Linked DNA regions of Homo sapiens: region 2 is linked to region 1. Evidence: promoter capture Hi-C in human tissues and cell types (Jung and others, 2019). All regions are on one chromosome and are shown on one strand. Each heading gives the region's core, a stretch centred on a gene start or on the middle of the fragment in contact. The rest is flanking DNA. Distances are from core to core; before and after follow the strand shown.

The links. The method cuts DNA at HindIII sites, captures the fragments that hold promoters and counts their contacts. A contact is called where the count stands out against the background at its distance.
Region 2: a fragment that was not itself captured here is called in contact with the fragment with the promoter of IFT57 in region 1 in 2 of the 25 tissues and cell types used here (dorsolateral prefrontal cortex and hippocampus).

What each region holds. Positions count from the first base shown.
Region 1 is chr3:108,219,744-108,225,461 of GRCh38, forward strand. IFT57 (intraflagellar transport 57) reads right to left here and starts at 2,681. Exons shown (of 11, transcript NM_018010.4): 1 at 2,368-2,681. The coding sequence starts at 2,579. It overlaps LOC124909405 (a long non-coding RNA gene), which reads left to right and starts at 2,862. Exons shown (of 2, transcript XR_007095999.1): 1 at 2,862-2,943; 2 at 3,203-4,741. RefSeq lists an enhancer at 2,400-2,659 and a silencer at 2,595-2,888. The HindIII fragment of the contact is 10,407 bases long and covers 1-3,819 here.
Region 2 is chr3:107,794,320-107,799,982 of GRCh38, forward strand. BBX (BBX high mobility group box domain containing) reads left to right here. Exons shown (of 18, transcript NM_001142568.3): 16 at 4,204-4,401. Among named protein-coding and RNA genes, the nearest start is that of LINC00635, 81 kb to the right of the region's middle. The HindIII fragment of the contact is 3,574 bases long and covers 1,569-5,142 here.

The DNA.
Region 1 (5,718 bases), core at 1,431-3,930:
ATTGAAGTTTTTAAATCAGCAGGATTAGGGCAATTACTACTGTACCCAAAATATTAGATCAAAGACCTTACACCCAGGAAATGTAGTGCATGTTAGAGCACAGAGCATGTAGAATTTTTGCCAAAATGATTTAAGTGTCAGTAATAATATGTAAGTACCTTATGAATGAAAATGGTAATCTGGAAGAACCTCAGAGTTTAAAAAAGACCTCAACGATTACTCATTATGCATTTTTACTGTTTCTAACCTATCACCTATGGTGAACATTTGTTTCTATGTTGGCTGCATATTCAATCACCTGAGGAGCTAATAAAAATACTGGTACTTGACCAAACATTGCTTCTTCCCTCATGAATGAATTAAATCAGAACTTCAGTGAAAGTAGGCCCAGTATGGGGTATATTTCAAAAGATTTCTACATGTTTATAAGGTGTAGTCAGGATTAAGAACCTGTGAATGTCACATCACCAGTCAAACATCTGTGGGCTCTTGCTTAATCCCCTAGTCTACTAAACACAGTTCTACGAGGATCAGTATGATTTATACCTAAACATTATAGGAATAAAACTCACTAGCAACAACATTCAAGTCAGTTTAATCAAAGATCTTATTTGTCTTGTTCATGTGTAGCTATCATTATTATGTTTACAATGTATTTACAACTATTATAACCATTGTCATAAAAATCTGTCGTGTACTCCTTCATGTTTCCCAAACTTTTTCCTGCAGGATAAATGTAAATGTTCTGGAAGATAACAGAAAGCTGGGAAGAAAAAAGGCCATGAAGTCCTTCCAGGTATATGCTCACTATCCTTTCAAAGCACCCACCCACCAAAAAGTCATCTTTTCCTTATCGGCAGATAACTCTTCTAGGGCAGAGGAATGAACACCAATAGATACTGTAAACCTAGGACAGTGGTTCCCAAACATTAGTGTCCATCAGAATCATCTGGAAGGCTTACTGAAACAGATGCTAGGCCCCATCCCTATAATTACTGAAAAGGTAGACCTGGGAAAGGGCCTGAGGAATTTCATTTCTAGTAAGTTCCCAGGTGATGCTGATGCTGTTGGTCTGGTGATCACATTTTGAGAACCATTGGACTAGGATATCCCCACACAAATCCATGATTCAAAGTATCCTGCTGAACCCCTGAGGACACAGTGCAAGAGATGACATCAACAGAACCTTAAGGACATTTTGTTTTCATTTTAAAAATATACTTGGAAAAAAATGCATTTTTATTAACATAGGAAATGTTGGTTGTCTATATTATCCTGATCAATTCACTTTAAGTAATAATCCCAGGACTACCTTTTCTAACATGGATCAAGCAACACTACTTTTTCCTTTATCTTTTCTCCGACCATGGACTAATTTAATATGAACAGTTTATATCAAGCCTACATATCTTTCAATTCAAGTTATTGGAAGACAGCAGTGGAATGAGATTAAAACTATCAAGGGAAATTATTTGAGCCTGGCTGTAGACATTAAGTACTATAGATTCTTAATACTGATTGCCTTTTATGGAATAAAATATACAAATGTAAGTATTAAAGTGAAAGAAAAGCTATAAAACTGATTTATCTGGCTACTGCTAAGCTACAGTGATTTGAGGAGAAGGTCCTAGCTGACCACTACCCTCAGCAAGTAATGGCATTGCTTTCAGGATATGTTGGACTTTTCCCCCACCGGAACAAGGGTAAAACTTTAGGTTCTATGATAGGGGGACAATTCAATAGTTGTCATTCGTCTTTTCCACTTTTCAGTTTCTGAGAGTATGGTTATTACAAAGGCAGAAGTCTTTTAAACCATAGCAAGTAGTTAACAAGTTTACTAACCGCATTTAAAGTGCTCCTTAACAGGATCCTAAGTACCCACGGTCCCCAGTTGTATGAACAGGGTCTTAAACAACAACAAAAAACCCCAAACTAGAAAAAAAGCCTTAAGTGATAATGGCATTCCTCTCTGGAGGCGAATTTTGGACGGTCTTATAATTTTTCTAGACATTTACTTGTGTTTTTCTGAGTTTTCTTCAATGAGTATTTGTTTCATCTTTACAATCAGAAAATATAGTTTGTGTTTTCTGGTAATGCGTGTGTGTTGGAAAAAAACAGGCAAGCTGTCTTCCGATCCTTTCTGCCGTTCCAAAACTTATTTATTCTCTCTACAAAAATACCAAGTCAGGGCTGCGTGAGCTCCACGGACCTCCCGGGAGTTTGGGGTGAAGTGCCCTTCCCTGGCTAGGAAGACGGAGGCAAGGAATTGCTAACCCGCTCTCACGAAACTGGTTCCCAGCAGGACCAAGGAGGGCATCTCCCTGGGGGCTAGCAGGCACCCGGGCGCTCGGGGACGCCGGCACCCACCTGGACGGGGCCTTCAGGTTGCTCTTCCGGAGGAACTCCTCCTCGTAGCGGAGCAGCTTCAGCTTCTCCACCAAGTCCTCCATCACCACGAACATGTGGTAGGCCGCGCCGGGCCCCCGCTCCAAGACCACTTCCCCGGTCCCTTCGCCACGGGACCTAGGCACCCCATCTTCCAAACCCGACGTCGTGACGACGGCCAGAGCAGCAGTCATCGCAGAACGGACAGAGTCCAGCGTGGGCTCAGGCCCACAGACCTCTGCGGCCTAAGCCGCCAGCCCTGCCGCCGCCAGTACAGCCACGACCGGTTACCAGGCGACCACCGGACAATCCGTCACCAGGGAAACTAGACTCCGCCTCCTTCCCTCCAATCAGGGCGGCTTTCCTGAATGACGTCACCTGTGGCCCTCTTCTTGCCCTGCCTCTGTGGAAATGGTGGTCGGGAAGCAGCCCCGCCCCTCATGGAGGCGTGGCGTTCGCGCCCCACTGCCGGCTGCGTCTTCTCCCTCGCTGAAAGTCTGAAGGGAGCCGGCTTACGTTTCTGCTCCGCTTGCCTAGTGAGTCTTGAGCTGGCTTGAGGTGTGTTGGACCTGGTGGTTGCTAAAAGCAATTAAGCGGGCATCTGGGTCAGCTAGTAGCTGTTAAAAAGATTAAAGGGAGGTGAAGACGTGTAGCACTGAAGGCTGCACTGGCTCACTGATACCTTTATTTTCTCAGAATTGAAAAGTTTTTCATAGTTGTAAAGATAGTCAATACCATAGGTTTCACTTTTACTGCAGGAACTTTCCAACGAGAGGTTTCTCTCGTTCTTTCTTTAATTTTATCTTTCTCTCACTAGGCAATGCTGCACTTAACAGTATATTGTAAAGCTTGAAGTACTGTATTACGTTGCCTGGCTGTTACTCCAGTGCTAGGAAAGTGGTTGGAAGGATGAGGAAGACAATGAACAAAAGGAGGCATTTGGAAGGATTTGTTTTACTTCAAAAACAAGAATACTAAGCTTCCATCCTGCTGCTTAATCTGTTTCAAACCCATTACATGTAGTATAAAGTGTTTGGGTACTTCGTTAAATCCAACAGAATAGAGATGGTCTTAAAAGGAATTTCCCTGCCCTAAAGCTCTAAGGGTGGCTAAAGATAGGGTGTTACTACTGTATTCTGCAGTTATTGACCTAGAAAATTTAAGAAAAGGTACATAACTGACCACAGAAATGGCCCAGCTTTACAGTTTTCAAAAGGCTTCTGTATTAGGCAATTTTCTTAACAGTTGCAAAAAATGAGGTAAGTGGTGGATGCCTGGCAGTTTTTGGGAAGAAAACTTAGTACAAGAGATTGAACATATGTTCATGTTTATAACGTGACTTTTAAGGGCTCTCTGATCTCTTGTATCTGCCACTACAAAATATAGAAGGGCTACATTTTTGGACAACTGAAATTTGAAATGTATCTACAATATCCTGTTTTTATTAGAAAAAATGAGAACACTTTTCATTGTAATCCGTCTACAGCTAACTTGTTTCTGATACTAATAAGGTTATCAAAGTGAAAAGTCAGAAGGGCAAATACCATTTTTTCATTAAAGAAAGGAAGTACATAAAATTACAGACTTATGTAGAGAATAACCTGAAGGGCAGCCCACTGAGAATTGCTTTTTAAATAAATAACATTGCTTGCCTACCACAAGTCATGAGCCAGCTGCTTTTAATAAAGTTGAGTGAGAAAATTGGATTTGATGTTACCCCACTACCAAATTGATCTTTCCTGGTCTTTGCCTTTTTGAAACAGTGATTCTCCCCGATAAGTCCATACCCCAACCACCACCACATGTGCAGCTTGGGGGTGTTATATGTATGTATAACAGTCACAGTAGTGTAAGATAGATGTATGGCTTTATAAGACTGAAAAATGAAAGCTTAGATATGTTTTGGGGTCCTAAGTTAACTAACAAGCAAACTGGGGCTTTTTACATGACTCTGAAAAAGCTCTCAGACTTTGGAAGTAAATTTATTACACTCAGGGAGGGAGATGTTCCTGCCAGGCATGCTGCCTACTTAAGATGTTCTGACATTTTCAGGAAGTTACGTAACACAGTATGAAATAGTCAAACGTTGCTTTTTAGCTGATAAATCCTCCAGCAACGTATGTATTTTAACTTGGGGGAAACAAAACGACTCCCAGGGTCTTAGCCATTTCCTTCCCAGGTAAAATACTGACACAGCCTGGCCTGAAAGCAGTATACAGAATAATTTCCCCCCTTAATTGTGAAGAAGAAAAAAACCCAAAAATATAAAGTATTTCCAGTAATTGTGGCACAAAGAGAACAAAAAAGCTAACTGTTCAATACTGCATGTTTCCCCAATAAAAAGTTTTAGAAAGAACACTGAAATTTCATTGTTTTGTAAAGCCCAGGGATTATTTTTGCTGATTCCTTGTTTACCTGTAATAGTTTGTAACACATCAAAAGATCTTTTCCTTGATAGTTTTCTTCGTGTGTGTGAAAATGCACTCAAATCCTCTTCTAGCTGTTTCAGCCACTTGGAAACTTTGGGGAATACAGTTGTATCAGGTTTTTTTTTGTTGTTTTGGTTTGCAGGACTAGTTTATTTGTTGACTAAGGAGTTAGAGCTTGAAGAGAATGAGCCATGTTCATTCTTCCTGTAAAATCTCAATTTCATCCCTGGTTTTACTGTATTCGCCACTATTAATAGCTGGCCTTCTGACTTTGACTTTTATTTCTTTCAAACTATCTGTGAGGTAATTGAAAGTAACTTTTTTTTTTTTTTTTTTTGAGACGGAGTCTTGCCCTGTCACCAGGCTGGAGTGTAATGGCACGATATTGGCTCACTGCAACCTCCGCCTCCTGGATTTAAGCGGTTCCCCTGCCTCAGCTTTTTAAAACTCGTGGATCTTTCTGTGAAACTCTGAAAACTAAATAGCATTCCAGGCCGGGCACGGTAGCTCATGCCTGTAATCCCAGCACTTTGGGAGGCTGAGGCAGGCGGATCATTTGAGGTCAGGAGTTCGAAACCAGCCTGGCCAACATGGTGAAACCCCCGTCTCTACTAAAAATACAAAAATTAGCCAGGCGTGGTGATGGGCGCCTGTAATCCCAGCTACTCAGGAGACTGAGGCAGGAGAATTGCTTGAACCCAGGAGGCAGAGGTTGCAGTGAGCAGAGATGGTGCCACTGCACTCCAGCCTGGGCAACAGAATGAGACTTTGTCTCAAAAAAAAAAAAGTATCCCAGTCAAAGCCAATTTAAGCTCAATGGATTTCCCTGAAAGGTGCTTAGCAAGGCTGGGGGTGAAAAGGAGGCAGATTCTAGAATGGAGGAAGGCTTTCCAGCTGCACCTTC
Region 2 (5,663 bases), core at 2,106-4,605, 420 kb before region 1:
AAGAAACCATATCTCCATTTAAGTACATCAGCTACTACATTTTCCGTTTTTCATATTTGTAGACTTTTAACCCTCATTTGGTTCAAATATTGAAAATATAAATGGTATTTCACAACGGGGAAAAAAAAAACCCCAAAACCTAGGACTAGGAATCTCTGTTAAAATTCACTTCTTTGCAGTGTATAAATCTAATTACAGGCAGGAAAATTCTGGTTTATAGTTAGATTTTCACACACGATCCACAGTGCCCAATCTAACTCGATCTCTTTTCTTAAGTTTGAAATAGTTGCTATATAACTTCAGCAAAGTCTCCCAGGATGTTGGATAAGGCTCATTCGTTTCTTTTTCCTGTGTTCTATTCAGCATCTGACTGCTGTTTCAGCTCATGGGAGACCTACCAAAGGCAATTAGATTCCAGATCTGGCTATAATAATTTCAGTGCAAGTTTGAAACCCCAGTTGGAATGTGAATTCATGACTCTGGAGCACTCTAGTGGCCTCATGGGGTACAATACAAGAGCAATGCTGCTTTCCCAAAAAACCTACTCCACATTTTGGGATCAGATTTTGGAAAACAAGACGGTCTCTTATTGCTACATTCCTGATGTGGCTCCAGGAGTGAGCTTGCATCATCACTCTCAGATGATACGCACCAAGTGTGTTATGGTTATTGTTTGGGTGTAAAAACTAGCCCAGTGGATTTGTTCTGAAGTGTTCGGGTAGTTTTGTGTGCTCAATTAAAAGCTGGAAAAGAAATGACTAATTTGTTTTGGAGCCACAAAGCCTTTCTTTTCTTACATTTCCATTAGGTTGCGGGTTGTCGGGAGGAACTAGCTTGCTATCTTTGTACTCAACTTTTGTGCTTGTTTCCCTCTCTGAACTTTTTTCATCTCATGTCCCTCACCACCAAGCTTTTGTCTGCTTTGCCAATGTCGTTGGACTCAGATCTACTGTTTTGTTCCAGAAAATTACTTCTCGGATACAGTCCCATCTGCCTTCCCTAATTCTTCTGTCTTAGGGGAAGGGTCTCCCTGAGGGCTGATCCTGAAGGCTGTCCTCAGTCTAAACCACCAAACAAGACCATACGTTCTGGGGTTAACCCTTGGGTCAGAACATTAGTCTGGACCCTTATCCTCTTTCAAACTCTAGGAAGGTCACATTACATACCTTTTGCAAATGTGCATCATCTGCAGGGCCCATCATTGCATTTTGATGTAATAGTAGGTTTAGAGGAGACCTCTGGTTAATTGGCATTACCTTCTTTTGGGGAACTTATGAGAACCTCCGACGTAGTCTTTTTTTTTTTTTTTTTTTTTTTTTGCCTCTTCCACTTGGTCTGCAGTCTGATTCACTCCTTTACTTTCCTCCAATATACTGACCCTTGGGACTTGGGTATTGCTGGCCTGCTTTGGGCCCTCAGGCTCTTTGCCTGCTGGTTTCTGAGCTTTCCATAGTCACAGTCTGGTTTTAGGCAGAAACTGTACCTCCATTTGCAATCAACCCTTTTGCAGCTGTGCCTTACGCTTCTTACTGTGTTTTTACCAATTCATCTGGAACAAACTAGAAAAGGAACAACTATTAAGTAGAAATGAAACCATTTGAAGGCTCACCAAACAAACAAAAACAGTGCTAGTCACAGGAGTACTGTTTCCCAGCCTATGACTCTGGAGCTGACTGGTGGTTTGTTGTTGTTGTTGCCCCTGGCCAGATCTCTGATGGTAGCCTATGTAGCAAAGTTATTTTAGGGCTAGATGGCTCCTTTAAAGCTAATACAGTCCAACCTCCATCTCTGAATGAAGAAACAGAGGCCCATGGTTGGTTGGACTGCTGTTAGTAAATTTAAAAGTCAGTAGTAGAATTCTGGTCTCTCTGTGACTGTTACTTCCATTACCCCATGGTCTCTGTGTAAAAAGCAAGTCATCTTTCCCAACCGACTTGGCCTTTTTCTGGTATCCATGCCTTTTCATTGACCTCCTTGGTTCTTCTTTCCGCAGTCAGTTCTAATGTAAGATATGATACACCTTTCCATCTTTGGAACCCCACTATATACCCTTATTTCTACATGTTCTGTACTTTCCTGGGAAGGGGAAGTAGAAAAGGGAAGAGGTTAATGTTCTTTCTGGAATGTCCATCCACAATGTGGTGATTCTATTGGAGAGGTAAACAAGACTCCTGTAATCAGAAGGGACAGCTGATGGATCTGGATAAGAAATTCGAAATCTCGAAGCTTATGAATGTGCAATAGATGTTATTTAATGCTCATTGTAAATTCAGATTTTGGGCTTCTTTATACTTAAAGGAGGCTTTGAATTTTAAGGCTAAAATAGAATCATGCATCTTCTTTGGAGTGTTTCTTACCGAATTATTTTTTATTTTGCTGGAAGCTTTTATTGAAGTTTAAACTAAAAAAAAAAAACTTAAAATATGTACCACCACTGGCCTATGTTAAGCTAAATATCAAAGTATAAATATTCTAAGACTAAGTATAATAACTGAGTAAATTAATCCACCATTGAGGTAGATCTATTTGACCTGGGAATAGATCTGCAATCTAAAAGGAGTATGTTTTCTGACCTTTGATTACTTACTTGAAAAGGTGTTTGGGAGCATTGCCAAGTAGTTTTTTAAAACAACTGTTATCTTAAGCCTGTCTGCACACAGCCATCTGTTATGCAATATTGAGGTAAGGCCAAACCACAAATGATGGTGTGATTTCTGCTTTACATACTTTCTTTTGATGTAATTGAAATTATTTCCCACTTGTTTAGGAATGTGAAGCCTGGAATCAGCCTTTCTTTTGAAACATCTTTTAAAGACAAGGTGCCATGATTTCCAGGACAAATAATCTTATTAATTCATAGCCTTCTTTCTTGAGGATGTACCTAAATCCATTAAACACCTAGATTAAACATTTTAAATGAGGGCTGTGCAAGTGTTTATACCAACAAGTTCATTTTTTCACACCCTGAGTTATTCTTGCTCTAGTTTTTTTTTCCTCTTAGTTTAGCTTTTCTTCCAAATATATATATATATATATATATATATAGCTTTATTGCCAATATCTACCTTCAGATATGCCTCCTCTGGATTTAGTTTGCTTAGGGCTTGTTATGTCTGACATTAGTTTTCTGACCCACATTCTCCTTTTCTTTGTCAAAAATAATTTCTATGTCTATCCTAAGAAATTGGATAGTTAAAAATTATGAAAGTGCATCTTTTCCCGGCTTAAAAGCCCTTGGGTCACTGGAATTTCTTTAAAGTCCCAATCATAAAACTCAACTATGGTATACCCCTAAACACTTACTAAACTCATATCTACACATCTTGTCTTACTTTTAAGTTAAGGTCAGGAGGGGGTAAACTGCTAAGAAAATGAGTATGTAAGAAAAGACACAAGCTTCCCCAATCTGTGTAAACCAGGAGAAAAGTCTGTGGTACAGGTGTCTTCCTTGCTCTTGACAGAGTGACTCAGAATATAGGAGTGTGCTATCAAATGATTCATTGGGGTTACAATTAGGATACCTAAAACTAGCCTCTCCACAAGCCAGGATGACATGTGGGACTTCATTAAATTATCTCACTAAGTGTATTCCTTGTTTTAGAATTCAGTGAATGAAAGAGAGTTTCTTTCCTTGGCGTGCTGGCTTCAACAATGTTTGTCCTGTCCTTACTGCACAGTCAATCTACATGAAAGAAAGTCAGGCCTCAATTTCTTTTCTGATCAATTCAACCTGGTGCTTAAAAGCAAATGTCCCAACCATAAATATAAATTTAAGAAGGACATATTTAATTTTAGTGTCCTCTGAAGAAATTTCTTTTACCATCCTCTCTAGGCCAACTGGCCAAAAGGATCTCTCAGATAGGGACCCTGATCACAACTAGGACATAATTTACAAGAGGACATAATTTACTCAGATTTACCTAAATTATCGTCCCCACCAACGTGCAACACCCAGAGACTTAGAAAATGTAAAAAAGAGGGGGTGTCTTAATTCACTGCATTTAATTTATCAAAGCAAATATCAATTGGTAGTAAACAAGTTAGGGGCAACGTTTTATTTCATTTTTTCCATCAGTACTTTGAAAACTCTGAGTGTAAATTCTCCATTCAGACGGGTCAGAAATTTAGACATGTTTCCTTCTAAGAGCAATTTTGGTGCCTTCTGTTTTTGTGCATAACTATGCATGGTATTTCCTATTTCAGCCATATTTTCAGAAGACAGAAACACCATGGAGCCTGTTCATAAGGTTAAAAATATCCCATCCATTTTCAACACTCCAGAGCCAACAACAACGCAAGAACCTTTGGTGGGCAGCCAAAAGAGAAAAGCAAGGAAAACCAAGATTACACACCTTGTCAGGACAGCAGATGGCCGGGTATCACCAGCAGGAGGTACTTTGGGTAAGAAGAGAGAGCTTTAGACCAGAGGTGTCCAATCTTTTAGCTTCCCTGGGCCACACTGGAAGAAGAATTGTCTTGAGCCACAATGAAATACACTAACAATAGCCAATGAGCTAAAAAAAAAAAAAAACAAAAACAAAAAAAACCAGGCCAGGCGCGGTGGCTCACGTCTGTAATCCCAACGCTTTAGGAGGCTGAGGTGGGTGGATCATGAGGTCAGGAGATCGAGACCATCCTGGCTAACACTGTGAAACCCCATCTCTACTAAAAATACAAAAAATTAGCCGGGCCTGGTGGTGGGTGCCTGTAGTCCCAGCTGCTTGGGAGGCTGAGGCAGGAGAATGGCGTGAACCCGAGAGTCGGAGGTTGCAGTGAGCCGAGATCGCGCCACTGCACTCCAGCCTGGGCGACAGAGTGAGACTCTGTCTCAAAAAAAAAAACAACAACAACAAACACAAAAAAATCTCAGAATGTTTTAAGAAAGTTTACGAATTTGTGTTGGGCTGCATTCAAAGCTGTCCCCAGCCACATGCAGCCTGCAGGCCATGGGTTGGACAAGCTTGCTTTAGACAGAGATAACCAGAGCAAGCAGATGACCACCATGTCAGCAAATGACTGTAAGCAACTGTGGTTCCTACTGAAAAATGAGTCTATTCTGCAGCTTTCTACAGACCTCCAAACATGTTTTATTCCATGTTTAAAATCATAGCTAGTTTTCCAAGAGCATATCTGAATTCCTAGAAAAGAAAGGTAGTTTTTAGGACTGTCATCTTCCCTTTATCTTTCTCAATGTGCACAAAAGCAATCTTAATTCCAGGAGATCCTATACTTTTAAAGATACTAGATGAATCAGTATTTGACCATGGTCTGCTGTTCGGGTCACTACAAGCCAGATTACCAGGCATTCAAACCAGTAGATTAAGCTTAAAATGCATCCAACATTCACTTCCTATATAACTGGTTTAGACCATGCAGGGAGCCTGAGAATGCTTCTGGATTTCTTGAGTTATCTGATTTAATTCACCAACTGGTGAATTTCTCCATTTTCAATCATGGCCTGTTGTCTGTTTGCTGTTCCTGGTAGCCTCTTTGGCAGTAGAATGACCGGAGGAGCCCAAGGTAAGGGGTGTGGCCGAAGAGTGATACTGAGACCCCCCGGCCGCAAAATCTTGGAGTGCTATACCAGCTAGGTACTAGTGGCCTTGGCTGTTGCCTTTCTGCCTCTCAGCACCTCCGCAATTTTATTTTATGTGATTTGGGTT